4 separate regions of the Homo sapiens genome follow, and regions 1, 2 and 4 are each linked to region 3. Evidence: promoter capture Hi-C in human tissues and cell types (Jung and others, 2019). All regions are on one chromosome and are shown on one strand. The core of a region is centred on a gene start or on the middle of the fragment in contact, and the rest is flanking DNA. Distances in the headings are between cores, read along the strand shown.

Evidence for each region. Contacts are between HindIII fragments. The study calls those that stand out against the background at their distance.
Region 1: a fragment that was not itself captured here is called in contact with the fragment with the promoter of RNF4 in region 3 in 3 of the 25 tissues and cell types used here (H1 embryonic stem cells, IMR-90 fibroblasts and aorta).
Region 2: a contact is called between a fragment that was not itself captured here and the fragment with the promoter of RNF4 in region 3, in 1 of the 25 tissues and cell types used here (dorsolateral prefrontal cortex).
Region 4: a contact is called between a fragment that was not itself captured here and the fragment with the promoter of RNF4 in region 3, in 2 of the 25 tissues and cell types used here (dorsolateral prefrontal cortex and mesendoderm cells).

The regions. Positions count from the first base shown.
Region 1 is chr4:2,153,855-2,157,011 of GRCh38, forward strand. POLN (DNA polymerase nu) reads right to left here. Exons shown (of 26, transcript NM_181808.4): 16 at 2,934-2,999. Among named protein-coding and RNA genes, the nearest start is that of HAUS3, 87 kb to the right of the region's middle. The HindIII fragment of the contact is 6,445 bases long and covers 1-3,157 here.
Region 2 is chr4:2,743,206-2,746,179 of GRCh38, forward strand. TNIP2 (TNFAIP3 interacting protein 2) reads right to left here. Exons shown (of 6, transcript NM_024309.4): 3 at 2,241-2,330; 4 at 1,492-1,740; 5 at 1,182-1,301. Among named protein-coding and RNA genes, the nearest start is that of TNIP2, 12 kb to the right of the region's middle. RefSeq lists enhancers at 1,637-2,137, 2,733-2,974. The HindIII fragment of the contact is 7,933 bases long and covers 1-2,974 here.
Region 3 is chr4:2,467,081-2,470,369 of GRCh38, forward strand. It overlaps RNF4 (ring finger protein 4), which reads left to right and starts at 2,026. Exons shown (of 8, transcript NM_002938.5): 1 at 2,026-2,178. It overlaps LOC107986250 (a long non-coding RNA gene), which reads right to left and starts at 1,871. Exons shown (of 2, transcript XR_001741551.3): 1 at 1,320-1,871. RefSeq lists a silencer at 1,569-1,738 and enhancers at 1,889-2,248, 1,932-2,504, 2,549-2,668. The HindIII fragment of the contact is 20,287 bases long and covers 1-3,289 here.
Region 4 is chr4:2,193,601-2,196,819 of GRCh38, forward strand. The region is part of intron 6 of POLN (DNA polymerase nu); the gene reads right to left. Among named protein-coding and RNA genes, the nearest start is that of HAUS3, 47 kb to the right of the region's middle. The HindIII fragment of the contact is 7,366 bases long and covers 1-3,219 here.

The DNA.
Region 1 (3,157 bases), core at 313-2,812, 310 kb before region 3:
ATTACAGGTGTGAGCCACTGCACCCGGCTGTTATTTGTATAATTTTAAAAAGCCATTTTAAGGCCAGGCGCGGTGGCTCATACCTGCAATCCCAGCACTTTGGGAGGCCGAGGCGGGCGGATCACAAGGTCAGGAGATTGAGACCATCCTGGCTAACATGGTGAAACCCTATCTCTACTAAGAATACAAAAAAATTAGCCGGGCGTGGTGGCGGGTGCCTGTAGTCCTAGCTACTCGGGAGGCTGAGGCAGGAGAATGGCATGAACCAGTGAGGCAGAGCTTGCAGTGAGCTGAGATCACGCCACTGCACTCCAGCCTGGGCGACAGCGAGACTCCATCTCAACAAAAAAAAAAAAAAAAAAAAAAAAAAGACATTTTAAGTATGGCAAACCAGAATATATATCTTAAAAGTTAAAAGGCAAAAGAAAATTGGAGGAAAATAATTCAACATTTCATAAAGGGTTAATTTTTATTATATAAAGAGCTTTTCCATACCAATAGGAAAAAATAAACACCCTCCAGAGAAATGGGCAAATGACATGAACAGGCAATTCAAAGAAGAATAATTGTTTCATGTAGTCAACCTCAACAAATATTTAAAGAAATGGAAATTGAAAAAATGAGTCAGGAAAGTAATCAAAACGAAAATTCCTTGTGTTGGCAAGGATTAAGGGACCAAGCATTTCACATACTATGTGGTGGGAATGTTATTTTTGGCGAGAGGCTAATTTGGCAACATAAAGCCTTAAAAATACATATATACTGTGACTCAGAAATTCTATCTCTAGGAAATTGCACTATAGAAATCAACAGAAAAAAGTACCAAAAATGTTCATGGTATTGGTTATGGTATTGCTATTGAAGTTTGTATGGTATTGCTATGATAAAGTACAGGTATGTTTATGGTATTTCTATAAAATAATTAAAACTGCAAACAATCTAAATGACCATCAATAGGGGCAGCCATTAAATGGAATACAATGCAGCTGTTAAAAAGATGACACAAACTTCCAGTTAAAGGTCATGGCTGAATGCACATGTTATGTTTACATCTCATCTTTCCAAAAGTTCAACTGAAATAACAGAAAAATAAATAGGTAAAATTAGAGCTTCACTGAGAACCTGGGAGGAGTGCTACTCACAAACCAGACCCTTCAGAAACTTCTGGAAGAGAATAAAACACAGCAAGAGATTTACTGAAAATGTAATGGAAAAAGAAACTTATAACTGCATAAAAACAAAAGCAAGGACCTCCACGAAAAGTTTCTCAGCAGAATTCCTAAATAACTCTTAGATAAGAAGTATCAACTAAGAGAAACTACAGCAGTTGTGGTTGGTTGAGAAATTAGCCCAAGGGTAACGTGGCAGCAGTGCCTGCATTCAGAGGAGATGGCACTGGTATTCACATGGATATTGGTGCTGGTATTGGTATTCACATTACTATTGCTATTACTACCACTCTTCGCTAGATAAAGACCCCAGAAGAGCTCCCTAAAGTGCAAGGCCAGAGACAGCTGGCAGCCCGAGAGCTGACTGACCAAGAGTGGGTGTCCATGCACCCAAGAGGCCACACGATTAGCGCAAACTCACCCCATCCCAGCCTCTCTTCCTCTTCCTCACACAGTCACCTGAGTGTGTCCCTCTGCCTGCATGCACTCGGTACACCATCTATGCAAATGCCTGGGTGAAGGCCTGACCCTTAATGGAGGGAACCCACGGGACAGACACATGTTACGGAGGGAAGGGAAAGATGACTAACATTTGCTCATTCTGTAAACCTCCACATACTTGTATTTCTTTACCATGAATACATATTCATATTTATATATATATGTTAGTGTGTACTTAAATAATTCACATATTTAATTCATATATTTAAATTTAAATATAGATTCAAATCAATATTAATGTAGAATGATATCAAGAGATGTTAAAATAAGAAAGCATAATATAAAATAGCATGGCTTTATTTTTGTAGAAAAAAATTGTATTTTTTTTTTGACAGAGTCTCGCTCTGTCACCCAGGCTGGAGTGCAGTGGCGTTATCTCGGCTCACTGCAAGCTCCGCCTCCTGGGTTCACACCATTTTCCTGCCTCAGCCTCCCTAGTACCTGAGACTACAGGCACCCGCCACCACGCCCAGCTAATTTTTGTGTTTTTAGTAGAGACGGGGTTTCACCATATTGGCCAGGCTGGTCTTGAACTCCTGACCTCATGATCCACCGCCTCGGCCTCCCAAAGTGCTGGGATTACAGGCATGAGCCACCGCGCCTGGCCTAAAAAATTGTATTTTATAAATATATGTGCTTAGCAAAAAGTGTGGAAAGATAGATACCACAGTTCTGCACAGTGGATAACAAGTGACTTATTACTATTTTTATTTCTTTTCTGTATCTAAGGAATTTTCTATAATGAGAAATTAATCATGAGTCTTTTTTAGTTCAAAATACAGAGCCATTTAGAAAGTTAAGTGCTTTAAGTGTGATGCAAGCTGCATCATAAGTTCAAGGGAATTTAGAGCTTTTTTTTTTTTTTTCTTCATCAGAGATACAGCTTCAACAACCACCAAAAAATGGAGCTGTTCATCATAGCATCAGATACTTCAACACATTTCTGGAAATCAGAAGCCACCTGTCTGGCACAAATCTGAAAAGGAAGATGGGGTACGGGTGTCCTTTTTGCCTGCACACTGGAGTGCATGGGTTTCTGGGTGTGAAGCCCCCCTCTTGCTAACTCAGCACTTCATGAGAAGAGAACCCATCTGTCTTGTTCTCCTGCTATGTTCTCAGAATAAACAGAATAAAACACAACATATCAGTATGAAGTCCCCTCTTGGAAACAGAAAGTGCACAGGCAAACACATATGGAGAAAAAACTTCAATAGCAAGGCAGGAAAATGGCGTTTAACAAAGACAGTTGTTTAAACAACTTACAGGATGCTTGGCTGAAAGTCTTCCAGTCACAGTTCCAGTCTGATTCCATGTAGAGGAAATGGAGCCCTTTATTAGTTAAAAAGAATCAGTGTAAACTCCAGCAATGCTATGTGAAGTTAAGAATGTGGCGGAGCCTCCACTCACAACATGCAACACTCGCTGCTCCTCCAGAGGCCAACAAGCTGCTGGCCCTAAACTTCCAACCCTGAAATGTCCTTGGGGTT
Region 2 (2,974 bases), core at 259-2,758, 280 kb after region 3:
TAGGGACTGAGCAACCCTCGAGGGGCCACAGGCTACTGTTGAAAGGGAACCAGAGGCCACTTAGTACAAGGTCTGCAGGCCCCACCAGGAACTTTACCCCCGGGGGTAAGAATCTGGGCCTGCAAGTCTGGAACCAGTTCATCTGGTCCAAAATCTTCAAGAGGCGGCCTGAGACCATCCTCACGATTGTACCAATAGTGCTCCTTCAATCCAAATCACATGCTTCCTTGAATTCATGAAGGCCAGAAAAACCTGTCCAGCCCTCTGCTGCAGACTTAGTCCCAGGGTTAGTCCCATAGTCCACCATGACTCTCCCGTGCCCTTCATGCGGAGGAGAAGCAGAAACCACTGAGGCCCAGTGGCTGCTCGGAACAGGGCAGTGGGGGGTGGCCTCACAGCCCCAGGGTCCCTGTTCACACCCTGAAACACGGCTGACGTCCTAGCTCCAGCCCGGGACGCATCGATTCTCAAGAGGCATCACTACTGTTCAGTCTGTGCCAGGAGAGGAAGCTCTTTGAGTGGGGCCCAGGCTATTCCCAGGGCCAAAAGTGTGTTAGGTACTTGATGAGGAGCTACATAAACTTCTCCTGGATTTTTGCAGAGCACAAGTCAGTGAGGAGAAGGAAGAGGCCATGGGTCACACACTGAGGAACTTCATCGGTTCCCATTCATGCCAGGCCTCCCTCAAGGCACCCCATGGTAGGAAAAGCACTGAGCCCAGGGGTGGGGTGAGGGGCCCCTGCCCTGCAAGGCCCAGCTCCACGTGCCAGGCTGAGCTGGGGATGTTACTGGACACCCAGGGCCATCACATCTACATGACAAGGTAAGCGGGGTTCCCGTCTCACAGACAGGTCAGGACACGTAGGGAGCTCACACTTTGAGGCCCGAGATATGCTCTCTGACTGCATGACAGTGACGGACGGGCCCTGAGGACAGCCACCTCTGCTAAGACAGGCCGCCATGCCAGCCTCCTCCATAACTAAACAGTATAACAGGGAGGCTTTCCATGACCACGCCCAGGTACCAGGCCAGGTGGCTCTCCCCACAGCAGGGAGGGGCTCGCCACAACCCTCATCACCAGCAAATCAGGGCCTTGGCAGACACAGAAAGGCTCTAATCTCATGAGAAGAGAAACAAAAACACTAAACCTAAGCAGGAAGAAAAACGCCCTCATACTCTACCTGTCTCCAGGACACCTGGTGCAGCAAAGAGGCGACCTTTTCCTCCAGTTCTTGAATCCTACTTTGAGCCCGTTCCCGATCGGCCCTTTCTGACATGAAGTCATCCTTGTAAGCGAGAATCTGAAGAGAGGCGAGACACACATTTCTGCTCAAGGAAGGAGGAAGCGCCCCACCAGGCTTCTCCCACCCCCACAGTGACCACTGCCCACTCAGTGCCACCAAGCCTTCAGCCCAGCCTGTCCCATGATTTCGGCCACCACCGGCCAGCAGACATCTGGTCAGTGCCGTCCGGAGCCCGAGGGACAGACACCTGCTGTTCCAGCATCTGCACCCGCTCCAACGCAGCATCCCGGGCCGTCCTGGAGGCCGCCAGCTCCTGCTTCACTTCGGCACAGTCATTTATTTTCTCTTCCAACTGTCTGTTGAGCCGGGAGATCTCCTTCCTCATCAGCTCGGGCTCGTGGGGGATCTGCAGCCCCCTGAGCTGCGCATGGAGCCCCCTCACGTATTCGTCCCTGCTGGCGTTGTAGCGCTGCCACTTGGCATTGAGGTCTTCAACCTGAAGAGGTGGAGCCGGAAAGCTCACGGTGAAGGCAGCTGACAAAGCTGCTCAAGCCAGCACCCAGTGTGAATTATGTATTAGCAGTGATTCGCTGAGTGAGAGTTTCCTCTTAAATGGAAGCTGCCCCTCCCTGTTCTGTAGAGAGCAGACACTAGGCCCGCTAGAGAATCCTGAGGCAGCACGATGACACCCGTACGCAAGCAGCATGAACGGAGGTGGACTCGGTGCAGCTTTGCTGTCTTAGAAAATGGACCTCCTGCTGCTAACTCTTGCATCTCCTTTACTGACTTGTGGATTAATTTTAGGGGGATGGAGATGGACAGGACATGTCCCGTACGTCGTTTTAAGCAAAAAAGTCCAGTCTCTAGGGACTGTGTGTATCAAGTCCTAGTGGCCAGAGGGCGGGGGGCGACTCTGGGCATCAGCCAAGGAAAGAACCCTCACTTACAGTTTGTAAGCCATGTGTTCTTCTCAAACGAAATGTGAAAGACACTCACGTGAGTCACCTTCTGTTTTAACAGTCGATTTTCTTCCTGCAACTTCTCAATAACACTCTGGACAGAGGTGTGCCCATCTGTGTGTTCCGACTGCATGAGGAAGGGACAGAGAGAAGACACTCTGTCACATACAGCAAGAGGGGAGAAAGCTAGACCCAGAGGCTGAGGCCACAGATTATCACTGCGTCCCCCAGTGCAGCGGGTAGTGATCATTCATTTGGTAGAGAAGCAAAGCAGGGACAAGGGACCACCTTCTCCCTGCCCAGGCCCACCCCACCTGGCCCAGGCCAGAGCCCGGATGGGAGGTCTTCAGGCCACACCACCTTTCACACTGTCCTTATCCCGTCCCACCTACCAGTTTGAGCTGTTTGTCTTTTAAATATTTGGAATGTAAATATTCTAAAGCCATAATGTCTGCAGGGATTGGCACACCAGACATGATAAAGTCTTCTCATTGCCAGAGATTTGCCATTATCACAGACAGCAGGGAAGGCAGGAAGCTGAATCCCATTGTAAACCAGAGGATCTCCAGTGAGGGGGCCCCCAGCTGCCCAGGGTGGGCCTGGCCATGCACCCTGCTTACCTCCTTTGGAGCCCATGACACTGTCCTGTCTGCAGACAATCGGGTTCAACCAGGTGATTCTGGACACAGGAATCTAACCTCTGCCCCACGCAGGGTCAGGAGTCACCGAAGCCACAACCCAAACCAACCCCCACTAACAACTACAGAGCTG
Region 3 (3,289 bases), core at 776-3,275:
GTGTGATGGCTCATGCCTGTAATCTCAACACTTTGGGAGGTCGAGGTGAGCAGATAACTTGAGCCCGGGGCTTCAAGACAAGACTGGGCAACATGGCGAAAGCCAGTGTCTACAAAAAAAAAATACAAAAAAATTAGCCAGGCATGGTGGCACACACCTGTGGTCCCAGCTACTCAGGAGGCCAAGGTGGGTTGATCATCTAAACCTGGGGAGGTCGAGGCTGCAGTGAGTGAGTCATGATTGTGCCACTGCACTCCAGCCTGGCTGACAGAGTGACACCTCGTCTCAAAAAAAAAAAAAAAAAAAAAGACTGGGTGCGGTGGCCCACGCCTGTAATCCCAGCACTTTGGGAGGCCGAGGCGGGTGGATCACGAGGTCAGGAGATCAAGACCATCCTGGCTAACACGGTGAAACCCCGTCTCTACTAAAAAATACAAAAAAAAAAAAATTAGCCAGGCGTGGTGGCGGGCGCCTGTAGTCCCAGCTACTTGGGAGGCTGAGGCAGGAGAATGGCGTGAACCCGGGATGCGGAGCTTGCAGTGAGCCGAGATCGCGCCACTGCACTCCAGCCTGGGCGACAGAGCGAGACTCCGTCTCAAAACAAACAAACAAACAAACAAAAAACACAAATACTTAGATATTTTACATGAGAATTACATTTATCTATCAGATACTCTACCATGCCAGATTTCCTTACAATTACGAAAAATAGCAAACACATATTGTTTGTAAATGCAACACAAAAACGTTAATGCTCTGGTTTCTATCTGCCTTGTCATTCCGTTATTTGACTCCATTTTCGAGGTTAGAAACTCACTGTAAGGTGGCCGGGCGAGGTGGCTCACACCAGTAATCCCAGCACTTTTGGAGGCCAAGGAGGGTGGATCACCTGAGGTCAGGAGCTCGAGACCAGCCTGGCCAACATGATGGAACTCCATCTCTACTAAAAATACAAAGAAAATTAGCCGGGCGTGGTGGCAGGCGCCTGTAATCCCAGCTATTCGGGAGGCTGAGGCAGGAGAATCACGTGAACCCAGGAGGTTAGAGCTTGCAGTGAGCCGAGATCGCGCCACTAAAACAAACAAACTCACTGTAAGGAAACAATGTAACCCAAGGCATTTGGGGTGACCTTCACGTTGCCTGAGGGTGCCGAGGGACCAGAGATGCTGGCCATGGACTAAGGTCTGGGTATTCTCAGGCAGCAGGGACAAGGTGGGCTTTTTTCCTGGTTGCTAAACCCACGTCAAAGTCGAGCTCAGGGACTGGAGCTCAAGAAACCCACCGCCCATTCTCCAGTCCGACCGGGGACCTGCATGCACCTCTGCCGTGCTGCCCTGAGTCCTCCAATCCTCCACACTCTTCCTCTGTTATGTACACGTCTCCACCCAGGCCTGCAAAAGTCCCAGCTTCCTCGCAGGGGCAGGGACCCGCACGCCGGCCCAGGGCTTGGCACGCGGGGATGCTGAAACAGGGCCAGGCCTGGTTTCCAGCCGATCGTCAGAGTCCCAAGGCCCAGCAACCTTCCTCACAAAGGCCTCGTTAAGAGGCGAGGAAACAAGAGCCGGGAGAGGGGCGCGGAACGGCGGGCGGGACGAACGACCAGCTCCGCGCCTCCGGCCAGCTGCGTCGAGCCAGGGGCACCGCGGCTGTTGTGCGGCTGGAAATCTAGGAATGGGAAGGTTCGGGGCCTGCTCGGCTCCGGAGGCAGCTGGCGGGTCGTCCCTGGCGGCGTTGGAGCGGTCAGTGGCAGCCGGGCACGGGCGACCGGGTCGCCCGGGTCGCCCTCAGACCGTGACTCCCGAAAAACCTTGCGGGCGGGGCGCGCCCGCGCCGTCTCTTGCCGGAAGGTGCGAGTTAGTGCGCTCGATTGTGGGCGGGGGCGGAAAGAGGCGCGTTTTAAAGTGGTAACAGATGGTTTTCTTATCCAATAGGATTAAAAAATTTGTCCTTACCCGGCCGACCGCGGAAGTAGAGTAGGCGGGCGGCCAATGGGGACATGATGGGGGGCGGAGCCGAGGCCTCCGAAGCGGAAGTGGGTTGCTGTTGAGGCGGCGGCATCTTTCTCGAGGAGCTCTCCTGGGCGGCTGAAGAAGGAGCTTCTTCTCCGGAGTGCGCCGGCGGTGGCGCCTGCGGACCTAACTAGCTCCAGGTTAGGCCGAGCTTTGCGGGAAAGCAGCGGTAAGTCAGGGCCTTGCAGATGCGAGGTTTAGGCAGCTTCGCGGCCTACAGAGGCCTCGGCCCGCGCCTCTTGGGGGAGCCGCGCTGCGCGGCTTGACCCAGCCGAGGCTTTGCAGCCCGGGACCTCGAGCCAGCTCTGGTCGCTCGCACTGCCGTCCGCGCGGGCGCACCGAGCCCGGCTTGGCGCGGGCAACAGAAGTTAGGAGGTCTGCGTCTGGGTCTCGGCTCACCCTGGGGGGCCGCGGCCATGGGGCTTAGTTCCTAGCCTAGGAAGGGAAACTGAGACTCTGGGAGGGGCAGGAACGCCCCCAAGGTCACTTGGAAAGTCGGGCAGGATGTGCTGTTAGGGGGAAGACCCGGGCAGGGTTTTTGTTCCCCGCTGACGACGCCTCCTTTGTGTGTTCGCGCCGCCGCCCCGCCATCGTGGGGCCTGCGAGTTTGCCGGGGTGCGTGGGCCGCGTGGCGGGGCCTTTTGTAGGTCGGGAGGATCTGAGTACGGGTGCGGGCCTGACCGTGGGGGCGCCGAGGTCGCAGTCTAAAACTTAGTAGGGCCTCGATTTCCGGGCGCGCTTCCGGGCCCCGGCTGGTGGTTGGTGGAACGTGCGACTGTGAGGCTTGCGGCCCAGCCCTGCACCGCTCGGGCCCTTCACCGCTCTGGCGCGCCTATAGACAGGTGTATGAAGATTCTCACGACCCGAAACAGAGTTGCTAGTAAACACCGCTTTTCCGCCTTTGATCCATCGAGGGAAGAGGGAAAAGGATAGAGCTTGGGCAAGCCGTTTTGGTAGGGATTTCAGCTTTTGTCTTTCACTTGTCAGTTCCCATAGACGTTCACAAACTTAATAATCTTCGTTCTGTTTCTGCACCAAGTTCTTGAGCCAGACGTAGGGTCTCAGCTCTGGAGCCTGGCTTAGACTGTCCAACTGACTGGGGAGACTGAGGTCCAGAAAAGTGAAGTGGTCTGCCCAAGGTCACATAGCCAGCTATTTGGCAGCAGATGAGGTTAAGTCCTACCTGCAAGATTTGGGTTTTGAATTCATTGACCAGGAGTTTTGGGACCACTGTCAATAAAAGAGACATTGAAGGGAATCTTTTGTTACTTTCTTGGTGA
Region 4 (3,219 bases), core at 575-3,074, 270 kb before region 3:
GTACACCTACTCTGGGCTCTTTAGAGCCAGGCCCCAAGATGACTCTCTAGCCCGTTCTCCCAGAGCTCCCCTCAAACATTCTACCCTCTCGTCGCACTAAATTCCCTTTCCTCCACCACAGGCTGTGCCACGTCCTGCTTTGCTCCTGGGTCACTGTATATACTGTATTCTTGACTACAATTCTCTTCCCACAGTTTTCACAAACTGTTCAAGGGCCATCTTCAGGAAGGTATGCCCTAATTCCCCAGGCAGGGGGCTGCTCCCTCTTCTGTATCTCTTCTGTACTCCTATCCACACATGTAGTACAGTGGGAAGTACACTTGCTGTATTATAATGTGCCTTGAACGTTTGTCTCTCCATTACACCATAAGCACTTTGAATATGGGACTCACAATTGTTAAAATTGACTGAATACTTACCATGTGCCAGATACCACGCTGGACACTTCGCAGCATTGTGTGTGAAGTGATTGTTGCACTGAAACCTCATCACTATCCTATCTGGCATGCACTAGAACCATTTTACAGATGAGAAAACTTAGTCTTGAAGAGGTTAAGCAATTTGGCCAGGGTTAAATGACTAACAAATGGCAATGCTGGGATCTGAGACCATATCTTCCTGCTGCCAGGGTCCAAACTCTAAGCTACCAAAGCCATCAATCCCTCTTTATAGTAAATGTTCATTAACACATTAAGATTCTTTGGTTAGAGCTGAGGAAGAAAGAAATCAAGAGCCTAATGAGCTTTGCACACTTAGCCAAACTGCAGTTAGATTTTGCTTGGACTTGTTCCACAGAAAGACATTTGTAGGCCTTTTGCACTTTGTGTGATTTCACCTTGGTTTCCCTTGAAAAGGGCGACCAGGATGGTAGGGAGGGTAAAGCGCCAATAACACAGCTTCAGATCTTGGCTTGGCTGGACCGGTGAGGAGGGTGTCCAAGAGGGAGTAAAGAGCTTATGAAGGAGAAGAACTGGGGCCATGGAGATCACTTCCCTTTACTGCTCCTTCATCCTTGAAACTCAAGAGTTCTGTGATGAGGTAATCTACCAACTACACTATCTTCCGCTAATAAGAGATTATTTTTATCTTGATAAAACAAACAACAAAAAGAATACCTTGTAAGCTAAATGGCAATTAGCCAGGCGTGGTGGTGCATGCCTGTAGTCCTAAAGTCCTAGCTACTGGGGTGAGGTTGCTGAGGAGGGAGAATCACTTGAGCCTGGGAGGTTGAGGCTGCAATGAGTCATGATCACAACCACTGCACTCCAACCTGGGCGACAAAGAGAGACTCTGGCTCTTAAAATAAAACATGTATTTATGTATATGTATATACATGCACACATACATATATATATTTATATATATAAAAGCTAGATTTGAGGCTTCCTCCTCTGTAAAATGGAGTGAATAAGGTATAACAAACGTACAGAGAGAATGTGAAGGTGAAGGGAGAGTGTGTATGTGAAAGGCCTTGCACAGGTCATTTAATAAATGTTATTAAACATGTTTTTGTGCAAAAAAGTATGTGTGCTAATTTAAATGTGATTTATTTAAATTTATTTTGAATCTCAAAGATATAATCATAGGATTGGGATTATTATTTCCAATTTATGGTACTTGAGGCAATGTATTAATTTGATTGTCCTAGAACTTATAAAAATTAAGCCTCAACATTCATTCATTCAATGATAATATTGAATAAATATTGATTAAGCACTTGCTTTGTAGCATTGTTCTTAGATATTGGGGATACATTAATGAACACACTACTGAACACAAATGAAAGTCATGTGGTGGGGTTGGCAGTGGGGTACCATCTCATACAGGGTGGTCAAGGAAGGTCTGATAAGGTAATTCTGTTTTTTTTTTTTTAGCTTGGTAATTCTTTTTTTTTTTTTTTTAAGACAGGGCCTCACTCTGTCATCCAGGCTAGAGTGCAGTAGTGCAATCACAGCTCACTGCAGGCTCAAACTGCTGGACCCAAGCGATCCTCCAACATCAGCCTCTAGAGTAGCTGGAACTATAGGCACATGCCACTGTACCCGGGTAATTTTTAAATTTTTTGTAGAGATTGGGTCTCACTATGTTGCTCAGGCTAGTCTCAAACTCCAGCCTCAAGCCATCCTCCCACCTCAGCCTGAGCCACTGTTCCTAGCCAAGGTAACTCTTGAGGAAAGACATGAAGGATAAGGTAAACAAAAGCCTAGTTGGTAGAGGAAAGTTCTTTACAGGAAATTTTAGCCACTAAATGTGGAAGAAATGATAGAATTAGAAAAATCACCATCTTACTAGCCGGAATTAAATAAGTGATTTAGATGATCCTAATCAATGGACAAAACCATTAAGGGAAAGTTTGGGGGAGAAGTTTATAAGGAAGGGATCGTGTTGACACCACCTGAACCCACTGCTCCCTCTCAGCACCATGAAAACTGGGACAACCCAATTGCATCACTAAGGGAAGTCAGGAGGATACCAGTTAAGTCTGAATTTCAGAAAAATCATGAATAATTATCTGAAAAAAATCGAATATTTTTTAGGGATGTATTCTTCTAGTATAAGTATGTCCCATGCAATATTTGGGACATACGTATACTAAGAAATTAGTTATTTATCTGAAACTCAAATTTAGTGTCCTATATTTTAATTTGCTAAATCCGGCCATCCAACTGCATCACAGATGGAGTATGAAGCTTACAGCTCCACCTAGGAAGTGCTGCGCAAAACAAGCTGGACCCAAATAATCAAGCATTTAGAGCTAACTCCAGTTTACAGAAAATATGGAGAAGAGGAGACAGAACAAGTGAAAGAACTTCATGATGAGGCAAACAAATGAATCCAGGACACGGGACCTCCTCCAAGATAGGGAGAGGGGCTGAGGAACGCTCCAGATTAGAAAAAACTAGGGACATGGCCACCCAATGCTATGTCCTGATCCCAACAAGTCAACTGTAGAAGGACATTTTTGAGACAATCAGGTAGCTTCAAATTTGGACTGCGTACACAACTTGTTAAGTTTAAAAATGGCACTGTGGCTCTGGAAAAAAAAAAAAAAAGCCCATGGTTTTTAGAGTCATGAGAGGGCAAAACAATAGATTGGGAATTTCTTTAATCCCAGTCCTCTCCCCCTTCCCCAGGAAAGGGACAGAAGGAAGTAAGGAAAAACCTTTGATAATGTTGGCCTGGGTGGATGTATATACTACTCTGTACCTTTGTGTTTTC